Linked DNA regions of Homo sapiens: all the other regions are linked to region 3. Evidence: promoter capture Hi-C in 16 types of primary human blood cells and fetal thymus (Javierre and others, 2016). All regions are on one chromosome and are shown on one strand. The core of a region is centred on a gene start or on the middle of the fragment in contact, and the rest is flanking DNA. Distances in the headings are between cores, read along the strand shown. Region 1 overlaps MDN1 (midasin AAA ATPase 1). Region 2 overlaps ANKRD6 (ankyrin repeat domain 6). Region 3 holds the start of ANKRD6 (ankyrin repeat domain 6).

The links. Contacts are between HindIII fragments. The CHiCAGO score rates a contact against its expected background, and 5 or more counts as called.
Region 1: a contact is called between a fragment that was not itself captured here and the fragment with the promoter of ANKRD6 in region 3, in 1 of 17 cell types (M2 macrophages). The highest score is 5.9, in M2 macrophages.
Region 2: a fragment that was not itself captured here is called in contact with the fragment with the promoter of ANKRD6 in region 3 in 5 of 17 cell types (M2 macrophages, M1 macrophages, erythroblasts and 2 more); the score reaches 8.3 in M2 macrophages.

The regions. Positions count from the first base shown.
Region 1 is chr6:89,666,897-89,669,755 of GRCh38, forward strand. It overlaps MDN1 (midasin AAA ATPase 1), which reads right to left. Exons shown (of 102, transcript NM_014611.3): 84 at 1,118-1,255. The region is part of intron 1 of MDN1-AS1 (MDN1 antisense RNA 1); the gene reads left to right. Among named protein-coding and RNA genes, the nearest start is that of LYRM2, 30 kb to the left of the region's middle. RefSeq lists a silencer at 1,314-1,608. The HindIII fragment of the contact is 2,482 bases long and covers 223-2,704 here.
Region 2 is chr6:89,625,365-89,628,064 of GRCh38, forward strand. ANKRD6 (ankyrin repeat domain 6) reads left to right here. Exons shown (of 16, transcript NM_001242809.2): 14 at 2,219-2,332. Among named protein-coding and RNA genes, the nearest start is that of MDN1-AS1, 12 kb to the right of the region's middle. The HindIII fragment of the contact is 5,002 bases long and covers 1-2,700 here.
Region 3 is chr6:89,431,841-89,434,557 of GRCh38, forward strand. It overlaps ANKRD6 (ankyrin repeat domain 6), which reads left to right and starts at 1,312. Exons shown (of 16, transcript NM_001242809.2): 1 at 1,312-1,535. LOC124901360 (a long non-coding RNA gene) reads right to left here. Exons shown (of 2, transcript XR_007059675.1): 1 at 1,577-2,717; 2 at 1-747. RefSeq lists a silencer at 1,104-1,583. The HindIII fragment of the contact is 1,573 bases long and covers 540-2,112 here.

The DNA.
Region 1 (2,859 bases), core at 214-2,713, 240 kb after region 3:
GGATGGTGCCATAATTTAATTCTCTTCTGATGAATATTTGGATTGTTTCACAATTTTCACCATATAAATAATGCTGTAGTAAATATCCATGTGTAGACATATATACACACTCATATACCTATTTATCTTTGACACTAGCATTTCTATAAGAAAACATGGAATTTGGGGGTCAATGAATACACATAATTTAAAATTCAGCAGACACTACCAAATTGTTCTGGAAGCTTTTTATTCCATGTAATGTTTTTTGTGTGAACTTTTCTATTAGATTTGCTTTTGCTTTTGACTTTTTTTTTCTACTAGAAAAGTAGTATACACTGATTTAGATTTGAGAAATACAGAAGGCCAAAATAACAAAGCAATTATCTAAGGACAATATAGGTCCAAAAAAAAAAAATTAGAGCTCCATAACATAAATACTAGCATTATTCTTTTGGCTTTTAATTGCTTTCCAGTTTTCTCTGCCAAGGAAGGGAGGGAATTTGAATTGGTTTTCTCCTTTATTTTTAATAACTATAAAATTACCTTAAATACAAGTTTCTGATCTGATTTAACTTAGAATATAAGTGATACACCCAATACACATAAATCACTCACAAATGAGACAGGCATTTAAAAAATCCAAGCAATGTAACAATCTTAGTTCACAGCATCTGAATAGTTCAGAAGGTTGCTTGATTCCAACCAAAAAAGGATACAGATTTTTTAAAACACTCTATGCCTTAAAGATATACAACAGTAAAACCTATTAACAGCAAATTTTGGCATTATTGTTTAATGCAATTATCACTTAAGATAGCCAGGCCTTTTATGCTTAAAAATACTATCAAAAATACTCTAGAAAATCATCAGTAAATATCTGCCCATTTAAAAAAAAAAAGTAAAAATCATTTCCTCCATAATTATAGCCAAAACCAATGATGGAGTTGCCAGGTTCCTTCCTGTGGATTTTAGGCTTTTTATTTACACCCACTGCCGAAGCACCAATATATCTAGGGCTCTGTAGATCACAGATTAAAAATTATTAACCTAGTAAAAACCATTTTTATGTGTAACTTACATGTTGAAAAGAAAGAGAGTGATCTTCTGTCAACTGTATACCTATGTGAAAACGTACCTGTTCTTCATTTCCGATCTGGTCACTCACATCCTTCATGCCCTCGCCTTCTCCAATTCCACCTCCCTCATAGTCATGGAACTCAGTTGCTCCCTCTCCAGCTGAATCTTCCATAAATTCTTTGGGCAAGCAAAATCCCTTAGAAAAAAGAAAAAGGAAGTGAACAATTAGGCACAAAAGCAATTTTAAAAGGAGATTTCATTCTTGCCACAGGAAAACAATTTAAACACATACTGAATTCTTTTTCTAGCTCATTATCTTAAATCCGCTGGAAGTACAGGAGACTTCTGACATTCTTCTCCTCTTTGGTGCTAATAGTTATGCAGTTTCACAGCTTGACATCAGATTTAACATATGACTTGACTTTGTAGAAGCCTCTGGCATGTGGTCATTTGTCACTTTGCCAAGACAAAAACCTAAATGAAGTATACTAGAAGGACAGTATTTTGGAAAAAGTCCTTGAGTAAGGGCAGAACAGGCTCTGGAGAGAACACAGTCAGACATAGTAATAACTGTGAAATGTTGAAAAAAACTATTTTATACAGGAAAATAACCTGAGAAGAATACTAGCCTGCTGAGCAGAAGTAAAAAGAAAAAGTAGTAGTGACTCTCAATCAGAAAGTTTAATTTTGTAAGAGAAAATATATACTATGAAGATATATCTGAGGATGGGAATGCACAAAAAAATAAGCTGCTAATTAGCAAGGAATTAAGATCCCAAACCAGTAAACACTAATTATGACTTGGTTACACAGAAACAGCTTCCTGCGGATCAAGAGCTTTAATTACAGCCTAGATCTATTATCTTAGCACTGTCTAACCTACTCTCAAGTTCCCTTGAACTACTCAGAAAAGATATGAATACAATTTGGACACTTAGAAAAATTTTTAACAAGCCAAACCCACTTTTAGGACATATATTCTCAGAATGTTGATAGGAAAATACAGTTTGGCTTACTTGCTTAATTTTCCCATTGAACTACATTATTTAAATGAGAGACATTCAGAAATAGACAAAGAATACGACCACATAGGAGGGAGTTTCAGATGCCCTTACCAGAGTATATCATTGCAGCTGCTACGTCTGGGATAGCCACAGGGCTCCCAACATTCTGCACATATCAGAACCATTCCTACCCGCAACAGACAAAGGTTTGAAAGGCCAAAGTCATTCTACAGCCTGTCAGACAAAAGCTACGGTACAAATGGACAAATCCAGCTGAGCCAAATCTCAAGGCACCCGAACCACACATTTTCCTGCCACTATCTTTAGTATACAGTGTTTTCTCCAAGAAGCAATGGAATGTTAAGGCTGGCCTGGTGCCCACCAGAGGCGGAGAAACCTGAGACTCATTCTTTTACTTATTATTACTTTTTATTATTATTATTATTACTGTTACTTATCATTACTACAGATAAACATATTTATCCTCTTGATACAAGGCATTAGGCTTGGCTTCCACTTTTTACCTCTTTCCAGTATTTCAGAGACTCGGAACTAAGAACTCTTAATTGTTTATAAGAAATCTAGACCCCATCTTCAGTTTGTAAATTCATATCTTCCTCAAGTACATCTCATCTGTATTAAGCTTGGAGAAAATCTTAGAATGCTAAGAACAAAAACAAAACTTATATACTCAAATGCAGGTGGTTCTCACAAAAATGCATATTAGTATAGGCAGATCTCATTTTACAAATGAGGAAACTGAGGCTTGGTGAGGTTAAGAGAGACCGAGAGCTGG
Region 2 (2,700 bases), core at 58-2,557, 190 kb after region 3:
TTTCCCATTGCATACAAAATTAGAATAATTATGTATTTTTTTCTTTTCCCAACTTTTTATTTTAAAAGTTTTCAAACATACAGAAAAGTTCACAGAATAATGGAGTGAATGCTTGTATATAATCCCTGTAGTCAGCCAGTTAATATGTTGCTGCATTTGCCTTGTCTCTCTGACACACATGTTTTTTTAACTCTTGAACTATTTCAGATTTAGTTGCAGACTGTCCTGACAGGGCATCTCTAAATATTTCAGAATGTTTAGAATAAGAATAACACTTTCAACTTCATAACAATATTGCTTTCACACCTGAGAAAACGTTATCCAGCCCATATTCAGATTTTCTCGGTTTTCGTAAAATAGTATTTGTTACAACTTTTTTTTTTTTTTTTTTTTAGATGGGGTCTGACTCTGTCACCTAGAGTGCAGTGTGGCAATCTCAGCTCACTACAGCCTCTGCCTCCTGGGTTCAAGCGATTCTCCCACCTCAGTCTGCTGAGTAGCTGGGACTAAGGCGGACGCCACCATGCCCACCTAATTTTTGTATTTTTTTGGTAGAGACGGGGTTTCACCACGTTGGCTAGGCTGGTGTCAAACTCCTGGGCTCAAGCGCCTCGCCTGCCTTGGCCTCCCAAGGTGCTGGGATTTTAGGTGTGATCCACCATGCCCTGCCCTTTTTTTAAAAAAGTTTTTGCCAAATTGATTAAGGACATTTTACTGTTTAAGTTTTATTTCCTTGTTTACTGGTAAGATGAAACATTTTTAAGGCTTATTTGCTATCTGTATTTTATAGAAAGGCCATTTTAAAAATATTTTCTTAGGTCAATAATAGATTAGTGAAGACTGTTTTGTATATAAAAACCCCACTTCGCCTAGCCTAAGCTGAAAGAGGAATGAGAGATGAATGTTGGGATACCTCAAGGGCCTCACTTCAGTTCAAGGGAGTGACAGATTGGGGTGTAGAATCTTAGTCCTCCTTCCAAATCACCAAGAAAGGACCGTGGCACCCTTGAGTCAGATGCTCATACCCGAGCCAGTTAGTGTGACCTGTGAACAAAGCAATGTATACCTATGGCTGCTCTTGAAAACAGCCACCTGGAGGAAGAGGTTAAGGGAGTGGGGAGAGTAGGCCAATCCTAGAAAACAGGAGGAGCACAGGTCACAGGAAAACATGGACTGAAGAGAAAAACAGAAGGTGCTCACCACGTCTCCAGAACGGATGTTTCTTTTTTCTTAATGTTTTGAACATCTGGGTGTGGAATGCCACGTGTGTCCCTGACAGGAGGGGAGCTCACCAGTGAGCCTTCGCGGATTGGCTCTTCCTAACAATAGTTCCTTTCATTCTTTGGTCCTTGTCAAAGCAGTGAAAGTTTGGCCCTCCTAGGTGTAGGGGTCCCACAGGAAATGCCAAGATGAAGGGTACTCCAGAAGGGCATGTGATTAAAAAGTGACAACTGCTTGTTCTCTGAAGCAATCCTTTAAGTTCCTTCTACACTCTTCTTACGTACTTTAGCTACTTCCAATGAAGCACCAAAAATATTTGCTCACTGCAAGAGCCGGATAAAAGCTCATTTTACTGCCTTGTAGGCAACCACTAACATTTTTTAAAGTGGGGTTGGGGAAGAGAAAAATCTCCATACTTTGAGATGTAGTTTTTTCTTACAGTAGTCTGGGAAATAATGTTTTAAGGCCTACAAGGCCTGCATGGGCTCAGGTTGTGTATTTACTGGATATTCAGAGTCTCTCTCTCTTTTTTTTTTTTTTGGCTCACTGCAACCTCTGCCTTCCAGGTTCAAATGATTCTCCTGCCTCAGCCTCCCAAGTAGCTGGGACTACAGGCATGTGCCACCACACCCGGCTAATTTTTGTATTTTTAGTAGAGATGGGGTTTCGCCATGTTGGCCAGGCTGGTTTCAAACTCCTGACCTCAGGTGGTGGGAGTATGGCGCACCACGCCTGGCCTGTATATTCATAGTCCTTATACCTCTTAAACTTTAACAAATAAGATTTTTTAAAAAACGAAACGTTGGCCTCATAGAAACATGCTCAAGAATTCTGAAAGAGTTCCATGAGTCCTACATGCAAATGGAATCAGATAAGGGGTTGAAGTTTGCATGCAGGGGCTCCTACTTGGTTCCCCAAGCCCCTCTGCAGGAGCTGAGAAGCCAGGGCTCACCCTGAGATCATCTCAGTCTTACACTCTGCTCCACTTCACTCCTAGATGCGTGTTTTGGACAAGCTGATGGTTGAGCGACTTTCTGCAGAGAGGACGGAGTGCCTGAACCGCCTGCAACAGCACTCAGACACAGAGAAGCATGAGGGGGAGAAACGACAGGTAGGAACCAGCATCTGCTAGTCCTTAACTTATGATTTACCACACAGGCCCACTGAGCTCAGGCAGGCCTGCCACTGAAAACTCAGAGGCTGAGACTCCCTAAGAGCTTTTACATTATATAGTGTATCATTTTTATGATACTGAAATGAGGTTAATAGAAAAGAACCTGTAGTTCTGTTTATGTCCGTGGCTGAATATGCTGGCAACAGATGAAGACCGAACATGCTGGGGAAGATGCCATTTCTGTCCTGAACTCATTCCATGTATTGTGCATTGTTAGGCCATTACAGTTTTAGAACAAGACATAGTTTCTACCCTCAGGGAGTTTACTGTCTCACCAAGATAAGAGACATGGAATGAGTACAGTG
Region 3 (2,717 bases), core at 62-2,561:
CAGCTGTGACTATGGGGTTGGGAAAATTTCAGAAGCAGTAGGAGAAAATCAAGAACTTCCCCTTCCTAGTGTGGAAACAGGCTCTTGGGATCTCTCCTGCCTAATGATCCCTGAAGGAGAGAGGGAAACAAACATCTTAAGGAAAAGGAAGAAATCATCATGTTTCTTTTCTCCTGGAAACCAGGCCTGTTTCAGAGGGAATAAGAAAAGTCGGCTGGGTGCAGTGGCTCATGCCTGTAATCCCAGCACTTTGGGAGGCCGAGGCTGGAGGATCACGAGGTCAGGAGTTCGAGACCAGCCTGACCAATATGGTGAAACCCCATCTCTACTAAAAATACAAAAATTAGCCAGGGATGGTGGCGGGCACCTGTAATCCCAGCTACTCAGGAGGCTGAGGCAGGAGAATCACTTGAACCTGGGAGGCGGAGGTTGCAGTGAGCCTAGATGGTGCCATTGCACTCCAGCCTGGGTGACAGAGTGAGACTTCGTCTCAAAAAAAAATTTTAAGCAAGAAAGAAAAAAAAATCAGATTCGTGATAAGCTTGTCCCAAAACCTCAGGTAAGATTGATAGTCCATTTTAGGGTGCTGCTTGCCTCCTCTTCCATCTCTCCGCCTTTGGAGAGCAGATACCTGTCCATGCTTCTTCAAAGGGTGGAATGAGATCCCATCCATCTTACATGTATTCAACAGTAGCTTATTGAATGCTTCCTGTGTTCAGGGAGCTCTTCTAGGTATTGAAGAAGTGGCTGTGAATGAAAATAGACAAAACCAGACTGAGATAATGGTATGTAAAGTGTGATATGAATATGGGGGTCAGGCTCGCTCAATGCTTTTGCCATTTCCATATGGGATGATTCCAACAAGATACTTATAGTCAAGCTGTTAGAAATAAAGGCTTCCTTTCCCCTCTCCAGCTACCCCAATAAATCTGGGTCATTCATCATTGTTGTTCAGTTTGTACTGAGCAGCCCCAGTTAAGTGAGCTATGGTTATATTGAAATATCCACTTGGCCACGAATTGAGTGAAGGTGGGAGGTTCCTCCTGCTAATTCTCCTCCCCTCCCAATACACTTCCTGGCAACCCCCACGCGGAAAACCTCACCCTACTATAGGCCCCCTTCCTCCCACTCTTCAGAAGGCGGTGGCCCCACCCAGGAGAGGGCTGCAGATCGGGGCCAGCCCCAGGGCCTCCGCGGTGCCACCTCTCTCTCGCGAGGGTCCCTGCCGTGCCCCGGCTCGCCGCTGGGAGGCGCTGCGGCACCGGCGTAGGAGCCGCCGGCAGGGGTGGGGCGGGGCCGGCGGGACGGGGCAGAGGGCCCTGCGGCGGCGGACGCGGCGGGCTCGGCCACAGGTAACCCGCAGGAGCCGAGAGCGCTGCCTGGCGCGCGGGCGGCTGGAGGCACGGCGCTGGGCGGCGCCGAGGCCCTGGGGCCGCCGGAGCCAGCGGGAGCCAGTCCCCGTCTTCGCCCCTCGCCCCCCACCGTGTCGCCGGCCTTGGTCCCTGCGGCGCGGACGTCCGGCGCGGGAGAGAAAGGTACCAGGCGACCTCGCCGGCTCCCTGGGACCCCCGCTTACACCGGGGTGGGCGCCTCAGGTCGGGGAGGACGCTGTCGGGGGAAGGGGGCGCTGCTCCCTCGGCACCCCAGGATCGCCGACTGCCCGCGGAGGAGACCCGGACACCGCGCCTCGCCCCCTGGCCTGCGGCCTCCGAAAACGCCCGGCGCGAGGGGGTCCCCCCGGGGCGCCTCCCTCTTCGCCTGGCATCAGTTGCCTCCCTGGAATATGGAACTTCGGGCGAGGGAGGTGGAGAACTTTCTTCTGGGGCTCGTCCCTCGTTCTCCTGCTCGCTTGCAGTTTGAAGGAAGGGCGGTGGGGGCGGGGGTCCGAGTACCCCGCGGTCTGCGGCGCGTAGGAGGGTAGGTCCCTGGCCTGCGGCCGCCTCCGAATGACCCCGTCCCTCCCCGCCCTGGACGACAGCACTAGGGTGCAGTCGCAGGAGAGGGGCCGATACCCCTCAGGAGCCCCATCGGCGAAGCCTCAGCAAGTGGCATCTCCCGGGGTCCAGAGAGTCGGCGTGCTGTCTGGTTTGGGTCCAGACATCAGCTCACCCAAGCTTATCTTGGGCTTTTAAGTGTGTTGCTTCCGGTAGATCTCGGGGACTGGAGGGGAAGTGCAGCATTATTTGTGACCCAAGAGGGACTTGAATGTCTCAAAGCTGGTCAAGAATGTTTCCCCCGCGAGGTAGCATGAGATGGGTCACGTGGTAGTAAAGAGCCACTTCGGGCCCGTGAGATGGAGTTCTGACTCCACCACTTGTTAGGTGTGTGACTTTGGAAAACCCACTTCTTTAAACCTTAGTTTTTAGAACTCTAAACTGCAGGTATTGTACATAACCTCGTAGTATTGTGTTCATGCAGTGAAGTGATGGGAATGAAATGCTTGGCATTGTACTCTTGTGTGTTAGACACCTTTTGCGAACCTGTTGGATGTTGAATTCATTCATGCTTAGGTTCTGTTAGGCCAGTGTAAGTGGAAAGAACTTGGGCAATGAAGACAAACACACCTGGGTCCAAGGTGGTCCCATCCATGGTATACTGATTGGGGGTTTCTCATCCCCAAAACACCAATAGCAGCCTTGGCGGGGTTTTTGTTGTTGTTGTTTTGAGACAGAGTTTCGCTCTGTTGCCCAGGCTGTAAGCTTTGACCTCCTTAGCTC